Linked DNA regions of Homo sapiens: regions 1 and 2 are each linked to region 3. Evidence: promoter capture Hi-C in 16 types of primary human blood cells and fetal thymus (Javierre and others, 2016). All regions are on one chromosome and are shown on one strand. The core of a region is centred on a gene start or on the middle of the fragment in contact, and the rest is flanking DNA. Distances in the headings are between cores, read along the strand shown.

Region 1 (4,187 bases), core at 1,508-4,007, 1.0 Mb after region 3:
TGTGGTTCAGTTGCATGGTCTCCTCTCTACAGTGGCCTTCCCTGACTATAGCATCTGAAGTGACCCCTCCCAGCCCGTTGTATCAAATGGGCTTGCCTTAGTCATAGCACTTATCAGTATCTGAAATGACGTTACTTTTTCTGCTTATAGATTTAGTATGTTTCTCTCTTAACAATATAAGCCCTTTGAGGACAGGTACTTTGTCTGACTGTATTCACTGTGCTGTAAGGGTGCATTGTACAGAAGAATGCTCATAATGCCGGGTGCTGTGGTTCATGCCTATAATCCCAGCACTTTGGGAGGGAGGCTGAGGCAGGAGGATCACTTGAGCCCAGGAGTTCAAGACCAGCCTGGGCAACATAGTGAGATCCACGTCTCTACAAAAAAATGTAAAAATTAGCTGGGCGTGTTGGTGCACACCTGTGGTCCTAGCTACTCCGGAGGATGAGGTGGGAGGATCACTTGAGCCTGGGAGGTCCAGGATGCAGTGAGCTTTGATTATGCCACTGCACTCCAGCCTATGTCACAGGGTGAGACTCTGTCTCACAAAAAAAAAAAAAAGCTGGATAATAATATATATATTTTTAGTTTTTATGGGTACACTGTAGGTGTTTATATTTATGGGGTACATGAGATATTTTGATAACAGGCATGCAATGCATCATAATCACATCAGGGTAAATGGGTGTCCATGACCTCAAGCATTTATCCTTTCTTTGTGTTACAAGCACTCCAATTATACTCCTTTAGTTATTTTAAAATGTACAATACATTGTTGTGGACTGTAGTCACCCTGCTGTGCTCCCAAATACTAGATCTTATTCATTCTAACTCTATTTTTGTACCCACTAACCAGAATGTTCGGTATTTGTTAATGAACATGTTATGACAGGATGTTTTAGAAGAAAATAAAGAAAAAAAGAAATTCCAGCCAAGCATGGTGGCTTGATTTTATTTATTTATTTATTTTGAGATGAAGTCTCCCTCTGTCTCCCAGGCTGGAATGCAGTGGCGTGATCTCCACTCACCGCAACCTCTGCCTTCTGAGTTACATGGCTCACGCCTGTAATCCCAGCACTTTGGGAGACTGAGGTGTATTGCTTGAGGTCAGGAGTTCGAGACCAGCCTGGCCAACACAGTGAAACCGTGTCTCTACTAAAAATACAAAAAATTAGCTGGGCGTAATGGTGGGCGCCTGTAATCCCAGCTACTAGGGAGACTAAGACAAGAAAATCGCTTGAATCTGGGAGGCAGAGGTTGCAGTGAGCCGAGATCGCACCATTGCACGCCAGCCTGGGCAACAAGAGGGAAACTCTGTCTCGAAAAGAAAAAAATTATTTTTTAATTTTAATTTGTTAGTGAACAATTAGGGTTGCTGTGAGAATTGTGCCTGGCACACACAGCCATTTAAAAATCACGATCTTCAGGCAGTGTGTGGTGGCTCACGCCTGTAATCCCAGGACTTTGGGAGGCCGAGGTGGGTGGATCACCTGAGGACAGGGATTCGAGAGCAGCCTGGCCAACATGGTGAAACCCCGTCTCTACTAAAAATATAAAAATTAGCCGGGTGTGGTGATGCGGGCCTGTGATCCCAGCTACTCGGGAGGCTGAAGCAGGAGAATTGCTTGAACTCAGAAGGCAGAGGTTGCAGTGAGTGGAGATCACGCCACTGCATTCCAGCCTGGGAGACAGAGGGAGATTTCATCTCAAAATAAATAAATAAACAAAATCAAGATCATTTAACAAATACATATATTGTACTTACTAAGTTCAAATTTCTGTTCTAAACGTTTTTACAAATGCTGTTAAGTCATTTAGTCCTCTGCATAATGTCGTTTGTTTGTTTGTCTGTTCTTTAAGACGGAGTCTTGCCCTGTCGCCTAGGCTAGAGTGCAGTGGTGTGATCTCGGCTCACTGCAACCGCCACCTCCCGGTTTCCCGTGATTCTCCTGCCTCAGCCTCCTGAGTAGCTGGGATTACAGGTGCGTGCCACCACATCCGGCTAATTTTTTGTATCTTTAGTAGAGACGGGGTTTCACCATGTGCCAGGCTGGTCTTGAACTCCTGACCTCGTGATCCACCCGCCTTGGCCTCCCAAAGTGCTGGGATTACAGGCGTGACCACCGCGCCAGACCCATAATGGCGTTTTATAGATGGGGAAACGGAGTCATAGAGGCTAAACAACTTTCCCAAGACCACACAGTTAGTAAGGGGCAGGACTAGGACTCAAAGCCAAGTTTATGACCAAATTCTGGTGCACTACGTTCTCCTGCTTCTGGAGAAGATAATGATGCTGAAGATTCTACTTTTGGTGTAAAGGAGTAGGAAGGGCACGGGGCACTGCTAGCTTCAGTGGGCCTGAATCTTTGTCTTTCCTTCTGATTTGGAGAAAGTGCAAGAATGGGAAAATGCAATCGAAGTGAAGGAGAGGCCGGCGTATTTTCCTGAAATGCGCGGCCCGCAAGCCCAAACCCGTTTCCCGGGTGTCCAGGCAGCGTTCTGCAGCATCTCCAATGCCCGCCAGCCCGCCGCAGCCCAGCGCCCGGCAGCCGGCGCCTCTCAAACCCCCTCCGGCCAGGAGCCTTCGCCGCTTGGCCGCGCCGCGCCCGGCCTGGGAAAAAAGTTTCCAAACGACGCTGCTCTGCGCTGATTGGCCGAGGCGGACGCGGTACCGTAGAGCAGCAGCCAATGGGAGGCGCCGACCGCAGGCTCCGGGGCGGGGGCGGGGTCCGGAGGGCCGGGGCCGCACCGCCCTTCGCAGCCGCCTCTGCCGCCGCCGCCGCGTTGGCCTCGCCGCCCCTGCTCGGGTAAGTGAGGCGCTGCGCGGGGCTGGGGTCGGGGTGGCTGTCCGGGGACCTCCACCGCGGCTGAAAAGCTCCTCTGCCCCGCCCCAGGATCCCGGGACCCCGGGCCACCGCCTGGCAGGGACCCCTACGCCCCTCGCTTGCGCGTCGCTTCCCGGCCGCCTGGACTCCCCCGGTCCCTGGGCTCCAAAATCCCGCCTCCCTGGAGCCTCCCGTCCTAAAAAGTTAGGCACTGAGTGCCTTGCCACCGGTGCGTTCCTCGCGCTGGCCCCTCGCCCTTGGCAACTTTGTTTCTCTTTCTGCGTTGGTCTCTCTCCCACCCCGTTGCCCTCTTCTCCTTCCGGGACTTCCTGGGTGGTTAAGCCTTGCCGGTCCCCAAACCCCGCTGCCAGGCTCCATCCTCTTTCTCCTCTTCCTTCCTCCCCATACTCCTCTCCTAGATGACCCTCGTTTCTTTTCTCTCTCTCTCCTATTCCTCCATCCTGCCACCCGCTTCTCTGCGACCCCAGACCCCTCGATTGCAGCGTTGCCCCTGCCCTCACACCCACTGTCCCGCCCCTGCAGGCCTCTTTCCAAAAACCCACCCTGCTCCCTCCCTCCGGGAACACGTTTGGGGCAGTCTGCTCTCCGCTTTGCTCCCGTCTCTGCCGCAGGACGGTTCAGGTTTCTTCTGACAGCACTTTGGGGAGGGATTGGGTAAAGGACGAAAATGCTTATTCCGCAGCTTGAGTGATGGCTGGGCTCACTGAGGACCTGAGTCTCTGAGGTCCTGGGAAACCCCGCTGTCACCTTGACACCGCTTTTGGGGAGGCGACTTTATCTTCTCCGAGCCATCTCAGGCTTTCTGCCTCCTGAGGGCCTGAGCTTCCTTGATTGCTTTGTCCGTGGTTACTACCAGGTTGTGCCTCTTAATTTCTACTTTGAGCCTCAGGCCCCTTTTAACTTTCTAAAGAAAAGGCCTTTGCAGCACGACCTAGGCAGGTTCATCATTTTTAGTTTTGTTATAGTGTATTCTAGCATAGGATGGCATTTTAGGACATGGGTCGGGTGTTTTGAAGATTAATTAGATCCCAGCTACTCCTAAAGCCTCTTGTTACCCGACCACCCCAGCCTCCATCACCTCGTTGGTATACAACCCGTTTTTTTTTTTTTTTTTTTGTTTTTGTTTTTGAGACAGAGTCTCACTCTCGCCCAGGTTGGAGTGCAGTGGTGCGATTTTGGCTCACTGCAACCTCCGCTTCCCGGGTTCAAGCGATTCTCCTGCCTCAGCCTCCGGAGTAGCTGGGACTACAGGTGCGTGCCACCACGCCTGGCTAATTTTTTGTATTTTTAGTAGAGATGGGGTTTCACCGTGTTAGCCAGGATGGTCTCGATTTCCTGACC
Region 2 (4,305 bases), core at 1,463-3,962, 1.3 Mb after region 3:
GTACATACTTAGTATAGATAATGGGGATCTTAGGACTGAATTGGCACCATCCCTTGTAGTGATCTGCAACTTTTATTTTCAAACAGTTCCTACTGGCTAAATGACAACTTCAGAGAATGAACACATCTCATCCACAGAGTCAAGAACAGAGCAAGAGCTCAGTAGGTGTCACCTAGAAGGATTATAATACATTGCTGTACACTACTGGGAAATCAATGTAGTTTAACACTGTTCTGCACCCTGCCAAAGGCACCAAGTAAGTACATCACAATAACAAAAATCCATAAAGAGAGCCCAGGAGCTTATCCAAGTCAGTATGGACATAAGATCTTTCTAAGCTTCAATAAATAACGTCAACAATAACCCTGGATCATATGACTAAAGAGATAGAATCTTCACTGACTTTTGACCTTTCTTTCCCCTCATTTTTAAAGCATCCCTTCAACCTTCTTGCAGATAGGTTAAGTACAGTTATCACCAGATCAGAGTTTGTAACAGGTCCATAAAAGGAAGGTACAGCCTTATTGTACTCTTAGAATCATAACTGAACCCCTATTCTCTAATTCCATCTTTGGAAATTGGATGGAGAGATTTTGTCACTGGCAAGGATCCTGTCCCAATTACTCTGTATTGCACACAGGACAGCCTCAAACTGGACAGAGAAACGAGAATTAGTGACAGTGGAATGAGGAAAGCTAGCATGTCTCATCAGCACCTCAGTGGTGGATTACCAACCCATGCCTCAGTTGCCTTCTCTAAAATAATGAGCTCTACCTCTCAGAGATAGAACCAAGTAAGAAGGAAAAACGTGATCGTGCTTAAAAAAGGTAAATGCCCATAAAATGTAAGGTAACTGGCTGGCAAACAAGTTTTCACCGGGTTTCTTTTGGAGGTCCATAGCATTTTACCTTTCCCTCTATTATGCTTAGAACACTGCGCCATCAAAACTTCTTCGGAAAGGTCTTAACCTCGCTTATATTTCAAGAGTACCTTTTTTATTTTATTTTTTAATTTGTTTTTTTTTTTGAGACAAGGTCTCATTTTGTTGCCCAGGCTGGAGTGCAGTGGCACCACTGTAGCTCATTGTCACCTCTATCTCCTGGGCTCAAGCTATCTTCCTGTTTCAGCCTGTGGGGTAGCTGGAACTACCACAGGCCACTATGCCCGGCTCTTTTTTTTAATTTTTATTTTTTAAATAAAGATGGGGTCTCACCATGTTGGCCAGGCTGGTCTTAAACTTCTGGGCTCAAGCGATCCTCCCAAAGTGTTAGGATTACAGGCATGAGCCACTGTGCTTGGCCCATTCCAAGTGTACCTTTAAATCCTCTGAAAATGTATGCAATATTACATGTGATGTGTATTTCCCTGGGAACAGCATCTGTAGACTCGTGAAGTCTGTTCTTGTGGACAGATGCATGCCTGTTCTGTTTTATGATTGTTCACCAGCCCTGTCCCCAAATACACACTTTTATACACGTCTCCTCCCTAAAATATCTAAGAATTACTAGTTTAAACCCTGGGTTCCCTGCAAAGTGGAACTGGTTTTATTTTTTGGACAGCAATCTTGCTCAGTGATTAAGACCTGGCGCTCCAGTGCGTCACAACTAGGTTCCCATGCTGTGTCTCTTTCCAGTGAAATCACTTTGAGCTATTTCACTTCTCAGTACCTCGTTTCCCAGTCTATGAAATGGGCATAGGGTTGTTACAATCAGGTAACACACAGGCTGAGTTGAGTAGTGCCTGACACATGAGGCTCAATGATAACTATTATTACTATTACTTGTCTGGACATTTGCTTCAAAGTAAACAGCGTACAAATGTCATTAATGACTCAAACATAACTAGCTTAGAGTATCTTTTCCTGAAAAGACAGGAGAATGGCCAGGCCAGCAAACTTTTTGCCTCTAGTTTCTTCTGATGAAAAAGGGGCCAGGCGCTCACACCTGTAATCCCAGCACTTTGAGGGGGCCAAGGCAGGAGGATAGCTTGAGACCAGGAGTTCGACAGTAAGACCCCGTGTCTACAAAAAATACAAAAATTAGCCGGGCGTAGTGAAGAGCCCCTGTATTCCCACCTGCTCTGGAAGCTGAGGTGGGAGGATAGCTGGAGTCCCGGAGTTCGAAGCTGCAGTGAGCTGTGATCGCGCTACTGCACTCCAGCCTGGGCGACAGAGAGACCCTCTCTTTAAAAAAAAAAAAAAAAAGCAAGGAGGGGAGGGCTACTTAACAGGTTGTTGTAAGGACCCAACGAGACAACCAAGCAAATTGTTTAGGGCAGTGCCTAACCCAATAGGGGTTGTGGGAATTGTAGTCATCAGCCCTGAGTGCCAAGCCTGGTCCAAGTCCTCCAGCCCCCGGCAGGGTCCAAGAAGATGAGCCAGGGGCCCAAGATGCAGGCCTGTAGGCCTCTTAGATGCCTGAAGATTACGCAACTCCTCCTTTAGCTCCAAACTGGCTTAAAACTCGCCAGTGGGCAACCTCTTCCCCATAAGAGCTCCCCGCGCACGGGCCAAGACAGCAGCCAGACGCTCCCCGCAGGCCCTCACACCGAAGAATGACGCCTGTAAAAGCCAACCCATGTGTTCCGCGCGCTCTCCTCCCATCCCATCCTTTCCACAAGATGAAGGCCCGACGCTTCCCATGTGGAGGCCTCCCTGCTCGCACTCACCAGCCTTCAACTCTGCCACAGTCGCCATTTTTCAACGGCCGCCAGGGCCGCACCGCGGCCCTGCGCACGCGCAGCTCCGCCCCACTCACCCTGCGGCGTGGTCTGTAGCCAATAGGCGCACAGCTCTCGCCCCGCCCACTTCCGCCCCTCTCAGTTTATGAGCTCTGCGGTTGAGTGGGTAGTGAATGTCGACCAGAGACTCCACCAATCAGCGAGCGCTCTCGGAAGGCCCAGTTGAGTGAGACGGCAGGGAGGGCGGGGACTGAGGCAGTGGAGAGCCCTGTGGGGTGCTGCTGGCACCTTAGTGCTTAACTTTAGCCAGCTGAGTTTTTCATTGTCTCTGCAGCCTCAAGTACCAACTGCTAGTAGTTACCACCTATTAACCCTGCGGTTCTCAAACTTGAGCATGAATCCTCATCACCTCCAAGACTTGTTTAAACGGATTGTTTGCTAGTCCTCCCCATAGAGTTTCTGATTCTGTAAATCTGGGGTGAGGCCCTAGGATTTGCATTTCTATCGAGTTCCCAGGTGGTACTGGTACTGCTGGTCGGTCTGGAGATCACACCTCGAGAACCACTGTATTAAGCACTTACTGTGACGCCTTAGCGCATTATTTCCTTATGATCACGCCGTTTTTACAATGAAGGAAACAGAGTCCTCCATCGCTGAAGAGACTTAACCAAGGTCACCAGCCTGTCCTCTTCCACTCGCACTTACACAGTGCATGTAAGGAGTCCAGGAGCTTTTTATGGAACTAACTAATGAAGGAATAAGCTCCAACATCCCATGGAAGTAAAGGAAAAGGAACAGGGGAATAATGTACCCTAAACTGAGTGTGAGGTTGCATGATTCCAGTTGTAATGCCGGTGAGATCCAAACACTTGGCTAAATAATAAACATCGATTAGACGTACACCTAAGAGTGGCCGGGCGCGGTGGCTCACGCCTGTAATCCCAGCACTTTGGGAGGCCGAGGCGGGCGGATCCCGAGGTCAGGAGATCGAGACCATCCTGGCTAACACGGTGAAACCCTGTCTCTACTAAAAATACAAAAAATTAGCCGGGCGTGCTGGCGGGCGCCTGTACTCCCAGCTACTCGGGAGGCTGAGGCAGGAGAATGGCGTGAACCCGGGAGGTGGAGCTTGCAGTGAGCCGAGATGGCACCACTGCACTCCAGCCTGGGCGACAGAGTGAGACTCCGTCTCAAAAAAAAAAAAAAAAAAGTACACCTAAGAGCTGCCAGGGCACGGTGGTTTACGCCTGGAATCCCAGCACTTTGGGAGACTGAGGTAAGGAGTTCGAGAACAGCCTGGCCAGCCTGGTGAAACCCCCTCTGTACTAAAAAAAAAGTACAAAAATTAGCCGGGCGTGGTAGCAGGAGCCTGTAATCCCAGCTACTTGGGAGGCTGAGGCACAAGAATCGCTTGAACCTGGGAGGCAGAGGTTGCAGTGAGATGAGATCGCGCTACTGCACTCCAACCTGGACGACAGAGCGAGACACCGCCTCAAAAAAAAAAAAAAAAAAAAACCACCTAAGAGCAAGGAAACCTCTTTCCGAGGAACTTCCAGCATACTTTTGGTTCCATGCCTATTGTTTTTAAAACTGATACATTGGCCAGGTGCGGTGGCTCATCCCTGT
Region 3 (3,979 bases), core at 857-3,356:
CCTAGCACATCCACTTGCCTTTTTAAGCTTCTGATACCTCTCTTCTGGAGTGTCAAAACCATTTGTTAATGCAGAGACTGAAGGTCCATCACTGATTCCTAGATTTTAAGAAATAAAAATTTTTAGCTTACTAATAAATACTAACGTAAAAATGCCAGTCAATCATTCAGTGCCTCTATAATGTCGTATCACGAATTAAGGTTACTTGGAAGCACTCCCTAACTTACTTTTTTAAAATAAGCATTAATTTCAGTGGCCACCAGGTTAAACCCTCTAATAATGAACTTAGAGATGCGAATGTTTCAACATGAGAATAGGCAGTTCCAGCGTCTAAAACATGACTTAAAACACAGTAATCATGTAAGAAAACAATCTCTATGCTTGAATAAGTTTTGCTGCTTTAAAAGATTCCTGTATAAACAGACATCAATAAATCCCTAAGTATATTATTGCCAGAGTTCCAGTCTTGGTCAAGAGTTTGGAGTGGTTAATATCTATGCAAAGAATGTATCTTCAAGATTAAGAGAAAATTATTTCTCTAAGTGAAAACTCTTAGCTTCCTAGGGAAGTGATTCCAACTAGACACTACCTAAAGCCAAGGATACTATTTACCCCTGCATGGATTCCTTCATGATTCAAACATGGAAAATCAGACAGCAAAAATGGATATCCATATCAAAGGGAGTGAACCGTTCATATTGACATCAGCAATTTAAAAACTAGTCTTTGCTCCCCCTAAAAAAGGGGAAAAAAAATTTGCAACTTTAAGTGTCAGTGAAGTATTTCCTGTATACACACCTGTTGAGGCAGGCAATGAACACGTCCACTAATGCATAAAGAAATATCTCATTTATCTGCAAAAACCTGACCCTAGCCGGTCACAAAAGGGCAAATATTGTAAGATTCCACTTATATGAGATGTTAAGGGCAGTCAAATTCAGAGACAAATGGCGGTTGCTAAAGGCTGGGCGAAAGGAGAAATGGGGAGTTTAATGTGTAAAGAGTTTCAGACTGTGAAGATGAAGAAGTCCTAGAGATGGATGGTGATGTTTGCACAGCAATGTGAATGTACTTAATGCCACTTAACTGTAAAGCCACTTAAAATGGCAAATTTCATGTTATACCTATTTTACAATCAAGAAAAAAAACAGTCTGACCCTAATCCTCAAGCTCTCTGCAATGTACACGCCGCACTGTTTTAAGCAGCATCAAAACCATCATCTCTATCTGAGATCCTGAGTCCAATCACAAACCTACGGCGTATCTTCATTTCTTTCGTGCTTTTGAAACGTTTAAAGGGTAACACTGAGACCTGTGAAACCCGCCCAAGGCTACTAACAGCAAGAGGCCACCACCAAGCATAAGAAGTTGGGGGCTGGGGGATTGAAGGAGCCTTGGCTATGCACTGCAAAGTGCTAGCCTGAGCTTGCAAGGGAGGGATACCTGAAAACTCCCCATCGATGGCGAAGAAGTCGGCCTCCTCTATGGCCTGGTACACTTTGTGAAGATTACTCTTAAAATCTGCGGAGAAACCGAAAAGAGGCTCAGAACCAGTGGCCTGAATTCCTGCTAAGGGGAGAGGGAAGGAGGGCCGAGGAGCTCCCGAGGCTGAGAGCCGGAAGGGGAAAAGTCCCGGAGGTGTGCACCGGGGCGAGGGGAATCAAGTCCTCGAGGGGTGCATGGGTCAGGGGGGACAAGCCCCGGGGGGTGCCCGGCCCGGAGAAGGACAAGGCCCCGGATGGTGCCGGGGTTGGAGGAGTAAGTACAAGGCTCCTAGGGTGCACGGTCCGCAGCCGGAAAAGACCCCAAGAGGCGCACCGGCTTAAGGAGGGAAAAGCCCTGAGGGGCTGCCTCAGCCCCAGGCCCAGCCAAACACGCCGGCCATGGTCTCGGCCTAGCAGGCCAGGGGCAGCCGGGTGTGGGGAGGCGGGGAGGTGTACGGCGGACACGCACTGCTCCTGATTATCTCCATTCTGCAGAGTGGCCGGAACCTTGGCCCCACCCGGGCCCGCGCCCGCCTCAGCGGTTCTACTCGCCGAATTCCGCGGCGACTGCGGCAGTAGCTGAGGCAGCCGCAGCGGTGACGCCGGCCGCGACTTCCGGAAACAGCGCGCGCCTGCTGCGCTTGCGTCAGCGCCTGCGCGGCGGCGGGGGCGGGGCCAAGGCTGGGCTCCTTTCCCTCCTTATAGGGACAGGGGAGGGGCGTGGCTATCGAAGTCCCCAAGGCGTGGCCTAATTTGTGCGGGCTTTCACTTCAGTAGAAAAAATGTGCATGTCTCGACATCCAGTCGACCAGGAAATACTGACTGGGTTTCTGTGATATGCTAGCCACTCTTACAGGGGTGGAGATACAGTGATGAACAGGAAGACGTGCTCCCTGCCCCATTGTAGCTTAAACTTGGGGTAAGGGGAAATTCAGGCAGGAGTGAAACTTGCCATTTGGTAACACATGAAAATCGCTATTAAGAAAAAGAGCGGGGCGATGTAATAGAGAATAATGGGATCCGGGTGCGGTGGCTCACGCCTGTAAGCCTAACACTTTGGGAACCCGAGGCGGGAGGATCCGTTGAACTGAAGAGTTCGAGACCAGCCTGGACAGCATAGTGAGACCTGTCTCTTAAAAAAATAAAATTAGGCCGGACCCGGTGGCTTATGCCTGTAATCCCAGCACTTTGGAAGGCCGAGGCGGGCGGATCACGAGATCAGGAGTTCGAGACCAGCCTGGCCAACATAGTGAAACCCTGTCTCTACTAAAAATATAAAAATTGGCTGGGCTTGGTGACTCATGCCTGTAATCCTAGCGATTTGGGAGGCAGAAGCGGGCGGATTACCTGAGGTCAGAAGTTCAAGAGCAGCCTGGCCAACATGGTGAAACCCTGTCTCTATTAAAAATACAAAAAATTAGCCGGGTGCAGTGGTGCGCGCCTGTAATCCCAGCTATTCGGGAAGCTGAGGCAGGAGAATCTCTTGAACCTGGGAGGCGGAGGTTGCTGTGAACCGAGATCACGCCACTGCACTCCAGCCTGGGTGACAGAACGAGACTTGTTTTCAAAAAAAAAATTAAATTAAATTAAAAGAATAATAGGGGTTGTTACTTAGGTGATCACGGAAAGCAAAGCTGAGACCCTTAGCTACTGCATTAGCCTCTGGGAATACTATGTCGAGTGCAACATATGAGGCCCGGCCCTAATGGAATTGTATGTTGGTTTGGGGTTGCTGTTCTCCAATGCCTAGCACTGGGCTGACACGTAGTAGACACTCAATAAGCATGGGTTGAATGAATACATTCAGGTTGGTCTTTCACAAAAGCCAACTATGAAAAGTTGGTTAGTGCCGGATGCGATGGCTCACGCCTGTGATCCTGGCACTTTGGGAGGCCGAGGCAGGCGGATTGCTTGAGGCCAGGAGCTCGAGACCAGCCTGGGCAACACGGTGAAACCCCATCTCTACTAAAATACAAAGAATTAGCCTGGCGTGGTGGCGCACCCCTGTAGTCCCAGCTACTCGGGAGGCTGAGGCAGGAGAACTGCTTGAACCCGGGAGGCGGAGGTTGCAGTGAGCCAAGATTGTGCCACTGCACTCCAACCTGGGCGACAGAGCGAGACTCCGTCTCCAAAACAAACAAACGAACAAAAGGAAAGTTGATTAGAAGACCTATTTTCAAAATCTATCTCAGCCACTTATTAGTTCTGGAATGCATTAAACCTTCCTAAACCTCAATTTCCTGGGATTGTATTGAGGCTCAGTGGTGCTAATGAATGTGAACTGGGAAGCAGCGTATTAATAAATCTGTATAAATAACTGTTTAATGGGGGCCTGGCGCCATGACTCACACCTGTAATCCCAGCGTTTTCGGGGGCTGAGGCAGGAGAATCGCCTGAACCCAGGAGTTCCAGACCAGCCTGGGGAAAAGAGCGAGACCCTGTCTCCATAAAAATAAAATGAAATTTTAAAATGAGCCAGGCGTGGTTGTGCACGC

What was found. Contacts are between HindIII fragments. The CHiCAGO score rates a contact against its expected background, and 5 or more counts as called.
Region 1: the fragment with the promoter of NDE1 here is called in contact with the fragment with the promoter of PARN in region 3 in 6 of 17 cell types (activated CD4 T cells, naive CD4 T cells, fetal thymus and 3 more); the score reaches 10.1 in activated CD4 T cells.
Region 2: a contact is called between the fragment with the promoter of CEP20 here and the fragment with the promoter of PARN in region 3, in 5 of 17 cell types (neutrophils, naive CD8 T cells, non-activated CD4 T cells and 2 more). The highest score is 8.8, in neutrophils.

The regions. Positions count from the first base shown.
Region 1 is chr16:15,647,488-15,651,674 of GRCh38, forward strand. NDE1 (nudE neurodevelopment protein 1) reads left to right here and starts at 2,758. Exons shown (of 9, transcript NM_017668.3): 1 at 2,758-2,807. RefSeq lists enhancers at 2,459-2,960, 2,961-3,460. The HindIII fragment of the contact is 10,572 bases long and covers 1-4,187 here.
Region 2 is chr16:15,885,891-15,890,195 of GRCh38, forward strand. It overlaps CEP20 (centrosomal protein 20), which reads right to left and starts at 2,713. Exons shown (of 5, transcript NM_144600.4): 1 at 2,668-2,713. The coding sequence starts at 2,695. The HindIII fragment of the contact is 7,894 bases long and covers 337-4,305 here.
Region 3 is chr16:14,628,154-14,632,132 of GRCh38, forward strand. PARN (poly(A)-specific ribonuclease) reads right to left here and starts at 2,107. Exons shown (of 24, transcript NM_002582.4): 1 at 1,954-2,107; 2 at 1,444-1,521; 3 at 19-98. The coding sequence starts at 1,972. RefSeq lists enhancers at 1,075-1,598, 1,599-2,120, 2,121-2,643. The HindIII fragment of the contact is 4,468 bases long and covers 26-3,979 here.